Linked DNA regions of Homo sapiens: regions 1 and 3 are each linked to region 2. Evidence: promoter capture Hi-C in 16 types of primary human blood cells and fetal thymus (Javierre and others, 2016). All regions are on one chromosome and are shown on one strand. The core of a region is centred on a gene start or on the middle of the fragment in contact, and the rest is flanking DNA. Distances in the headings are between cores, read along the strand shown. Region 1 has its middle 5.3 kb from the start of SPNS3. Region 2 holds the start of GGT6 (gamma-glutamyltransferase 6). Region 3 holds the start of PELP1 (proline, glutamate and leucine rich protein 1).

Region 1 (3,386 bases), core at 131-2,630, 130 kb after region 2:
AAGTTAGCTGCGCATGGTGGCGGGCGCCTGTAGTCCCAGCTGCTCAGGAGGCTGAGGCATGAGAATGGCATGAACCCAGGAGGCGGAGCTTACAGTGAGCCAAGATCACGCCACTGCACTCCAGCCTGGGCGACAGGGTGAGATTCCATCTCAAAAAAAAAAAAAAAAGAGTTTGAAATCAACCTGACCAACATGGTGAAACCCCGTCTTTACTAAAAAATCCAAAAAATTTAGCTGGGCATAGTGGCACACACCTGTAGTCCCAGCTACTCGGGAGGCTGAGGCATGACAATTGTTTGAACCCTGGAGGGAGAGGTTGCAATGAGCCAAGATGGGACCACTGTACTCTAGCTGGGGCAACAGAGCAACTTTGTCACTCTGTCTCAAAAAAAGAAAAAAAAAAAAGAAAAGAAAAGAAAACAAAGACTCAAACAAATACTTGTACATAAATGTTCATGGCAGCACTGTTCATAACAGCCAAAAGGTGGAAACAGCTTAAACGCCCATCTGATAAATGGGTCAAGAAAATGTGGCATAATCATACAATGGAATAGTATCCAGTCATAAAGAGGAAGGAAGTACTGATTCATGCTACAACACGGATAGACCTTAAAAACATTATGCTGGCTGGTCACAGTGGCTCACGCCTGTAATCCCAGCACTTTGGGAGCCCGAGGCAGACAGATCACCTGAGGTCAAGAGTTTGAGACCAGGCTGATCAACAAGGTGAGACTCCATCTCTACTAAAAATACAAAAATAATCCGGGTGTGGTGGCACCGCACTTGTAATCCCAGCTACTCAGAAGGCTGAGGCAGGACAATGGCTTGAACCTAGGAGGTGGAGGTTGCAGTGAGCCGAGATTGTGCCACTGCACTCCAGCCTGGGCGACAGAGTGAGACTCCGTCTCGGAAAAAAAAAAAAAGAAAACATTATGCTAAGTGAAAGACACCAGACACAAAAGGCCACATATTGTATGATTCCATTTATAGAAAATATCCTGCACAGGTATAGTCACAGAAACAGAAAGTAAATGGTTCCTAGAGGCTAAGAGGAGAGGAAAATGCTTAATGGGAAGACAGTCCCCTTGGAGAGTGATGAAAATGTTTCAAAACTAGATAGAGGAGATGGTGTCACAACACTCTGAATCCACTCAATGCCACTGAATTATATCCTTTAAAATGGTTACAATTTTAAGTAATGTAATTACCTCAATTTTTAAAAAACATTAAAGAAGCCGGGCTTGATGGCTCGTGCCTATAGTTTCAGCTACTTGAGAGGCTGAAGTAAGAGGATTGCTTGAGCCCAGGAGTTTGAGAACAACCTGGGCAACACAGCAAGATCCTATTTCTTTAAAAAAAAGTTAAAGCAAACAAACAAAAAAGTAGGAGCTTTACAGTCTGACCGGCCTGGATTCAAAATCAAATTTTGCTACTTTCTAGTTGTGTGCCTCAGGCAAGTCTCTAACCTCTCTGAGCCTCCGAGTTCTCATTTGTTTTCTTGTTTAGAGACAGAGTCGCCCCAGGCTGGAGAGCAACTGTGCAATCTCAGCTCACTGCAACCTCCGCCTCCTGGGTTCAAGCCATTCTCCTGCCTCAGCCTCCCGAATAGCTCGGACTACTGGCACACACTGCCATGCCCAGATAATTTTTTGTATTTTTAGTAGAGACAGGCTTTCGCCTTGCTGACCAGGCTGGTCTAGAATTCTTGACTTCAGGTGATCCGCCTGCCTTGGCCTCCCAAAGCGCTGAGATTACAGGCATGAGCCACCATGCGTGGATAATTTTTTGTATTTTTAGTAGAGACAGGATTTCGTCATGCTGACTGGGCTGGTCTCGAATTCCTGAGTTCAGGTGTTCTGCCTGCCTCGCCCTCCCAAAGTGCCGGGATTACAGGCGTGAGCCACCACGCCTGGATAATTTTTTGTATTTTTAGTAGAGACAGGCTTTCGCCATACTGACTAGGCTGGTCTCGAACTCCTGACTTCAGGTGATCTGCCTGCTTCGGCCTCCCAAAGTGCTGGGATTAAGGCACGAGCCACTGCGCCCAACCAGTGTTCTCATTTGTGATAGAGAATAATAAGATGGGTTGGGCGTTGTGGCTCATGCCTGTAATCCCAGCACTTTGGGAGGCCAAGGCAGGCAGATCACCTGAGGTCAGGAGTTTGAAACCAGTCTGGCCAACATGGTGAAACCCCGTCTCTACTAAAAATATAAAAACTTAGCCGGGCGTGGTGGTGCATGCCTGTAATCCCAGCTACTCGGGAGGCTGAGGCAGGAGAATCACTTGAACCCAGGAGGTAGAGGTTGCAGTGAGCCGAGATTGCGCCATGGTACTCCAGCCTCGGCAACAAGAGCAAGACTCAGTAAGTCTTAAAAAGAGAATAATATGACGATGTTTCAGGGGTTAATTGTGAGGATGAACTAATATAGATACACATACTGTTTCCAACATAGAGCTTGTCATGTGACAAACAGAGTGTAGAGTATTGTTATTGTGGTGGTGACGATGATGACGAGGTCCTTGGCATCCACTGCCTGGTTCAGCCGCATACCGTCTCGGTGACCACCCACATGGGGTCTACAGTTGGTGAATGAAGGGGAAGTTCAAGATCATCCATGCGCACGTGCAGGCGGTCTCGCATCCTGCTTCAGAACCTGTACTCCGCAGCTAGACTCACTGCTCACTGGCCATAGGATCTCAGGCAGATCACTCAACCTCTCTCCATCTCAATTTTCTCACCTACAAAATGGGGATGGCCAGGCACAGTGGCTCGTGAATGTCATCCCATTACTTTGGGAGGCCAGGACAGGCAGATCGCTTGAGTTCAGAGTTGGAGATCAGCCTGGGCAACACGGCGAAACCCCGTCTCTACTAAAAATGTAAAAATTAAGGCCGGGCGCGGTGGCTCACGCCTGTAATCCCAGCACTTTGGGAGGCTGAGGCGGGTGGATCACCTGAGGTCAGAAGTTCGAGACCAGCCTGACCAACATGGTGAAACCCCGTCTCTACTAAAAAAAAAAATTTTTAATACAAATACAGATACAAAAATTAGCCAAGGATGGTGGTGCATGCCTGTAATCCCAGGATCACCTGAGCCCAGGAGATCAAGACTGCAGTGAGCCGTGATCGCACCACTGCACTCCCACCTGGGCGACAGAGTAAGACTCTTGTCTTGAAAATAAATAAATATAAAACAAATAAAATGGGGATAAAAATAGTACACACCTCATGGGACTGTTGTGGCTTGAATACGATGATGTTTGAAAAGTGCCTAGAACTATGCTTGGTATGGAGGAAGTATTGTGAGTGTTAAATATAATGGGGTTTTCCCCAGCACATGTAGATGAAACTTTGTTCTCAGCCCCTGCCCTCAGAGCCAAAGAGT
Region 2 (3,248 bases), core at 90-2,589:
TCAATGCCCAACTCAATGCATTTTCACACCCAGGGCACTCGTGTCACCAACACTCAGATTAAGAAACAACATCTCGGCCGGGCGCGGTGGCTCACACCCGTAATCCTAGTACTTTTGGGAGGCTGAGGCGGGCGGATCACCTGAGGTCAAGAGTTCAAGACCAGGCTGGCCAACATGGTGAAACCCTGTCTCTACTAAAAATACAAAAAATTAGCCAGGCGTGGTGGCATGTGCCTGTAATCCCAGCTACTCGGGAGGCTGAGGCAGAAGAATTGCTTGAACCCAGGAGGTGGAAGTTGCAGTGAGCTGAGATTGCACCATTGCACTCCAGCCTGGGCAACAAGAATGAAAACTCTGTCAAGAAAGAAAGAAGAGAAAGAAAAGAAAGGTAAAGGAAAAAGGAAAGGAAAGAAAGGAAGGAAAGAAAGGACATCTCCAGCATTCCAGAAACCCCCTGGTACCTCCTCCAGTCACTATCTGACTTCTAAGGGCAGACTGTTGTTGCTCTTTTGTTGTTGCCTGTTTGTGTACTTTGTGTAAATGAAAGCATATAGCGTGCGCTGTCTCCTGCCTGGCTGCTTTCCCTCGTCCTTATGCTTGTCAGACCTGTGTATATTATTGCATATAATTGTAGATCACTCACTCTCTTTGCTGCAGAGTGGTCCATTGTGACTTACATCATTCATTCTAACGATAATGGATGTTTGGGCACTTTCCAATTTGGGACTGTTACAAACAGCACTGTTTTGCAACAAGTCCTTGATGGGAATCCCAGAATGAATTTAGAAATGTTGGTTTCCAGGCTGTGGCGCTACCTTCTGGACAAGAGTCGCAAAACACGCACAGGGAGTTACGAACCAAGTTGCTCCTCAAAGAAACCCAGACCCAGAGTAGCCACAGGCTGAGCCTTGACCCCGGCCAGAGACCAGACACCCCTACGCCAGAACCTAGTCACGTGCAGACTCAAGCACGTGGGAGCTCTGACCCAAGCCACCGTGAAACCGTAGCTCTAATTCAAGTCCACAGTCCCTAGAGTCCCAGGTGGGTGGGATCCATGGGCTACATCCCCCAAGGGGAGGAGCCCAGCAGGTGCCCTGAGTATCAAGGTTGTGGCATTAAGGCTGAACTCCTTCTCGACCTCACTGAGCTGTGGCCCCTTACAGGCAGTCACCCCGGGAACCCTGTCGCGAGAGCTCCTCGGGCCTTGTGTCCTAATGGGGCAGGCTCACATGCAGCCTCCTTGGCCCCGTGCCCTGCCCAGACCTGTTCTGGATTCCACCCCCACCCTTCCCCAAGGTCGCTGCCACCTCCCACCTGCCAGGCTTGGGCAGGGCCTCTGAGACACAGCCGGAAAGGCTGGCAGGCAGGAGGGCTGGGGCGAGCACTGGGGGGCCATGGAGCGGGCAGAAGAGCCCGTGGTCTATCAGAAGCTGCTGCCCTGGGAGCCAAGCTTGGAGTCGGAGGAGGAAGTGGAGGAGGAGGAGACATCAGAGGCGCTGGTTCTAAACCCCCGGAGGCACCAGGACTCTTCCAGGTAAGTAAGGGAGGGGTCTGGGCACCAGGCTCCCCAGGCTTGAGGTTGGCAAGTCCCTCTCTCTGGAGCCCCTCAGGGGGACCAGGCGACTCCCCGCTGGGTTTAGCTCCAGGCACTGTACGGTCAATTTGGGGGAAAACCCAGGCTGTAGCCCGAGACTTGGCCTGACCCAATCAAAAGTCTGTGCATCTGGAGGGACATTTGTACCAAGCCAGCCTCTGTCCCATCTGCTGCTTTGTCAAAGGTCCCCAGCCCCCAAGTCCTGGTGCAGGAGGCACCTGCTGGGCAGGTTGGGGCCTGACTACGCCTGGCTGGGCCTGCTCCCCAGCCCCTTCTCTCCTGCCTGCCACACCCCACTGGGCCTCCCTCCCACCTGAGTGGACTCTGCCCCACCAATCTCCCCTCCAGAGGCTCCCTCCCTAGCTAGGCTCAGTTTCCCCAGATGCTTTCCCATCCCCATGTCTGCCCAAGATGCACCCGCTGCCAAGAAGCCCTTTCTCCTTGGCTGACTTGTGCTCCTCTTGCTAAATCAAACCTTTTGGGAAATATTCCCTGGGGTCTCTTGGGGTCCTTGGGCATCCCTCTGTCCCAGCCGTGGCTCAGGACACCCCCCCTCTGCAGGAACAAGGCTGGCGGGCTGCCCGGAACCTGGGCCCGTGTAGTGGCAGCCCTGCTGCTGCTGGCTGTTGGCTGCTCCCTGGCTGTGAGGCAGCTCCAGAATCAGGGCAGGTCGACAGGAAGCTTGGGCTCTGTGGCCCCTCCACCCGGCGGACACTCCCACGGCCCTGGCGTATACCACCACGGTGCCATCATCAGCCCTGCAGGTCAGTCAGTGCTGGGGGCGGCTTGGGGAGGGGAGGGTCAGGGGTCACCAGCCCAGCCTAGCCCCCCTCCTTGCTGCATGACAGTGCCTTCCTTGCTGCAGCCACATGCTCCCACCTAGGCCGAGAGCTGCTTGTTGCCGGGGGCAACGTCGTGGATGCTGGAGTTGGAGCTGCATTGTGCCTGGCAGTGGTGCATCCTCATGCCACGGGGCTAGGTCAGTGACCCCTGACCCCAGACTGCAACCCCAACCCACAGCCTGATCAGTGACCTGGAACTTAGGGAGTCAGTAGCACTGACCTCAAGACTGCTAAGTGAGCAGGACTTAGGGTTTGGGCAGCAGTCCAACCCCAGGCTATGACCCTTGAGCCCGGGTCTGTGGAACTTTGACCTCAGGCCTGGTCAGTAACTCCTGATCCCAGGCTCAGTCAAGGGATCTTGACTGAAACAAGTCAGTGACCCTTGACCTGCGGCTGCTGAGGGACCCCTCTGTCTCCTGCAGGTGCCATGTTTTGGGGCCTCTTCCACGATAGCTCCTCAGGCAATTCCACGGCCCTGACATCAGGCCCAGCACAGACCCTGGCCCCCGGCCTGGGGCTGCCCGCGGCTCTGCCCACCCTGCACCTGCTGCATGCACGCTTCGGCCGCCTGCCCTGGCCACGCCTGCTAGTGGGCCCCACCACGCTGGCTCAGGAGGGCTTCCTGGTGGACACACCCCTGGCAAGGGCTCTGGTGGCTCGGGGCACAGAAGGCCTCTGTCCACTACTTTGCCATGCTGATGGGACACCCCTGGGCGCTGGGGCCCGAGCCACCAACCCACAACTGGCAGCTGTGCTTCGCAGCGCAGCCCTCGCTCCCACCTCAGACCTTGCTGGGGATGCTCTACTGAGTC
Region 3 (3,698 bases), core at 919-3,418, 140 kb before region 2:
GTTGAAGCTAGGAGTGACAACAACTTGTTTACATTTGAAAAGACCACTTTGGTTGCTGTGTGAAGGGACTACAGGGTGCTAAGAGGGAAGCAGAGAGCAACGAAGGCTTTGTAATAGACTAGGTGAGAGTGAATGGTAATTTGGACCGGAGCGGCAGTGGAGATGGAGAAAAATTAACGCTATTGGGTTAATGTATTTTGGAGGCCTTGAATGCCAGGACTTGAAGGATTGGATAGGAGGCAATAAGAGGAAAAACGGGCCAGGTGGGGTGGCTCACACCTGTAATCCCAGGACTTTGGGAGGCTGAGGCCGGCAGATCACTTGAGGTCAGGAGTTTGAGACCAGCCTGGCCAACATGGTGAAGCCCCGTCTCTACTAAAAATACAAAAATTAGCTGGGCATGGTGGTGGGTGCCTGTACTTCCAGCTACTTGGGAGGCTGAGGTAGGAGAATCACTTGAACTTGGGAGGCGGAGGTTGCAGTGAGCCGAGATCGTGCCATTGCACTCTAGCCTGGGCGACAGAGAGACTCCTCAAAAAAAGAAAAATGATGACTCTTGGATTTGAATCTAACAATCACAAAAGTACACAAACATAAACATAGAGGTATTAGCGTGTTCACTACAGTTTGCATTAGCAAAAAGCTGGAGCAGCCTTTAAGCATTAATTCAGCAATAGAATTATTAAATCATGGTGCACCCATTTCATTCATACCACAGTTTAAAAAACAGCATAAAGAAGGCCATGAGTGAAAACAAGCCACACGCAGACCCCAATCTTGTAAAATATTCATTTATGTGCTTGTGCATAGACTAATATTAGGAAAGTATACACGCTACTGGGGCAGGGCTTTGCGGGGGAGGAGCAGTTTTTCTTTTTACTTTATGCCTTTCTGTACTGTTTGAATTGGCTTTTGCAAGGCGCACGTCTTGTATCATTTCTGAAGTTGCAAATGTAGTTAAAAATGTCTGTGATTTCAAGTTACCTAGAGAGTTATTGATTCCTTCTCTTTCCCTGCCGCTGCCGAGTTGCGCGGAGGCGGAGGCTTGGGTACCTTCAAGATTCAGCTTCACTTGTAACCCACCGCCACGGCCGAGGAAGGCATTGCTGCTGGAGGGGTAATGGATGTTAATACTGCTTCACAAGAGGTGCTGAAGACCGCTCTCATCCACCATGACCTAGCACGTGGAATTCGCGAAGCTGCCAAAGCCTTAGACAAACGCCAAGCCCATCTTTGTGTGCTTGCATCCAACTATGATGAGCCTACTATGTATGTCAAGTTGGTGGAGGCCTTTGTGCTGAACACCAAATCAACCTAATTAAGGTTGATGACAACAAGAAACTAGGAGAATGGGTAGGGCTCTGTAAAAATCGACAGAGAGGGGAAACCCCGTAAAGTGGTTGGTTGCAGTTGTGTAGTAGTTAAGGACTATGGCAAGGAGTCTCAGGCCAAGGATGACATCGAAGAGTACTTGAAATGCAAGAAATGAAGAAATAAATCTTTGGCGCGCGTACACACACACACACGTTACTGATTCCTAGGCAGGGTGCGGTGGCTCATGCCTGTAATCTCAGCACTTTGGGAGGCCAAGGCGGGCGGAACACCTGAGGTCAGGAGTTCAAGACCATCCTGGCCAACATGGTGAAACCCCATCTCTACAAAAATACAAAAAAAATTAGCCGGGCGTGGTGGCGCGCGACTGTAATCCCATCTACTCGGGAGGCTGAGGCAGGGAAATCGCTTGAACCTGGAAGGTGGAGGTTGCGGTGAGCCGAGATCGCGCCACTGCACTCCAGCCTGGGCCACAGAGCGAGACTCCGTCTCAAAAAAAAAAAATGAGAGTTATTGATTCCTACAGCGAAGATGTCCCAAGACTCCGTCCGCTAAATGGAAATCGTTCCGACTTTGGCGCCTTTTGTCCGGACCACGTGTACCTTTAACATCACAGGACCGCCTCGGACACGCTCACAGGCAGCCTCATCCGCCATCACTCCGGGAACCGAGCACCCCGCTGCCTCGGCGCCCAGGCTGCTCTCTCCGCGCATGCTCCTTCCCAGCTTGAGCCCGCGAGTCCAGCCTGCCTTCACTCAGTGCGCAAGACCGCAGCCCCCTCCCCACGCCCCCTCCCCAGTAGGCGGCCGTCGCGGTGTGTTTGCGTCATCGCGCCACGCCACCACTGGAACCCGGGGGAAGATGGCGGCAGCCGTTCTGAGTGGGCCCTCTGCGGGCTCCGCGGCTGGGGTTCCTGGCGGGACCGGGGGTCTCTCGGCAGTGAGCTCGGGCCCGCGGCTCCGCCTGCTGCTGCTGGAGAGTGTTTCTGGTTTGCTGCAACCTCGAACGGGGTCTGCCGTTGCTCCGGTGCATCCCCCAAACCGCTCGGCCCCACATTTGCCCGGGCTCATGTGCCTATTGCGGCTGCATGGGTCGGTGGGCGGGGCCCAGGTGAGTCCGTGGCCCGCGTGCCCGCGGCCCTGTGGGGAGGATGGCGCGGCACCTGTGCGCCGGGATTACGGTGCAGTGCAAGTGCGATAGGGAGGTTGAAGGAAGGAGAGCTGCGGGCAGAAAGGGGATCCAGGTATCAGTCCGGACGGGATGCACGTATTTCTCCTTTATCGGCCATGAGTTTCTCCAGGGGAAAAATGGGCCTTATTTTTCTGTTGTTAGGCTATTGGTCGGCACACAGGAATCGATTAGGTTCCAGGCCCGGTCACTCACTAGTTGTATAATCTAAAAGTCTCTTTTTCCTCTGGCAATATCTGTTTCGGGGATTGTTTCGACTGACTGAATGACGCATTCAACAATAAACATTTACCGAGCTCTTATTGAGGGTCAGATACTGTACTAGGCGCTCCGGTTACAGACGTGGTGGCGATACACAAAATGCTGCGAAACAAGATGAGAATTGAATATCAGGGGTCTCTAACCTTATCTGAAGACTGGCAGAGATTTTTCCAAAGAAACCGGCGTTTAAGCTGAGACCCTAAGGATGAATAGGGGTTGGGTAGGGAAAAAATATGGGAGGGGCTGTTCAGTCAGAGGAGAGCTCATGTGGGAAGACCCTGTGGTAGGAAGGAACTGGAAAGAAGGGCATCGTTCCTGGGGCTCAGATGTGGAGGGGAAGAGAGTGGGTACAGATGAGACTGGTGAGATGGGTAGGCAGTGGTCGGGTCATGCAGAGCGTTTTAGGCCGGGTTAGGAGCCTTTGGACTTCTATAAGAATGGAATCTGATAACCATTCAGTTCTGCAAGCTAGACACTCAAGTAATTCTAAACTCTTCTTCATACACCTCCATAAGCAATCTGTCAAGTCCTGTTGATTTTATCCTTTGAGTAGTTTTCAGATCTGTCCACTCTTTTCCATCTTTCTCATTGCTCCCATTCTAGCTTGAACCCCCACCATCTTGTCCGGGTGAAGGCACTGATTCTAAGAAGGCATATTTCTAGCCCATAATAGCTGCTCCTTATAACAATCTCCTATCTTCCCTTCTCTCCCACTAAACCTCCCCCAAATTCTACCCATCCTTCAAGACCCATAAACACGAGATCTTCTGTGTCCACCCTTCATTCCTGGGACCTTCCTAGCTCTATGCTACCTTCCAGGAAGATGGTTGTCACAATTTGCTGGGTGGGTCAATAACCTTAGCCCCAGATTTATCACAGATAACCCTATCTGTTTGTCTTTAACATTACTCTGCATA

The links. The method cuts DNA at HindIII sites, captures the fragments that hold promoters and counts their contacts. A CHiCAGO score of 5 or more calls a contact.
Region 1: a contact is called between a fragment that was not itself captured here and the fragment with the promoter of GGT6 in region 2, in 5 of 17 cell types (M0 macrophages, M2 macrophages, endothelial precursors and 2 more). The highest score is 11.5, in M0 macrophages.
Region 3: a contact is called between the fragment with the promoter of PELP1 here and the fragment with the promoter of GGT6 in region 2, in 2 of 17 cell types (M2 macrophages and M0 macrophages). The highest score is 7.1, in M2 macrophages.

What each region holds. Positions count from the first base shown.
Region 1 is chr17:4,426,920-4,430,305 of GRCh38, reverse strand. No RefSeq gene overlaps it. Among named protein-coding and RNA genes, the nearest start is that of SPNS3, 5.3 kb to the left of the region's middle. The HindIII fragment of the contact is 9,473 bases long and covers 1-3,386 here.
Region 2 is chr17:4,558,668-4,561,915 of GRCh38, reverse strand. It overlaps GGT6 (gamma-glutamyltransferase 6), which reads left to right and starts at 1,339. Exons shown (of 4, transcript NM_001288702.2): 1 at 1,339-1,534; 2 at 2,156-2,358; 3 at 2,460-2,573; 4 at 2,859-3,248. The coding sequence starts at 1,395. The HindIII fragment of the contact is 2,996 bases long and covers 1-1,452 here.
Region 3 is chr17:4,702,607-4,706,304 of GRCh38, reverse strand. PELP1 (proline, glutamate and leucine rich protein 1) reads left to right here and starts at 2,168. Exons shown (of 17, transcript NM_014389.3): 1 at 2,168-2,442. The coding sequence starts at 2,194. PELP1-DT (PELP1 divergent transcript) reads right to left here and starts at 2,075. Exons shown (of 2, transcript NR_103482.1): 1 at 1,935-2,075; 2 at 776-1,106. It also overlaps the pseudogene RPS12P29. The HindIII fragment of the contact is 30,411 bases long and covers 1-3,698 here.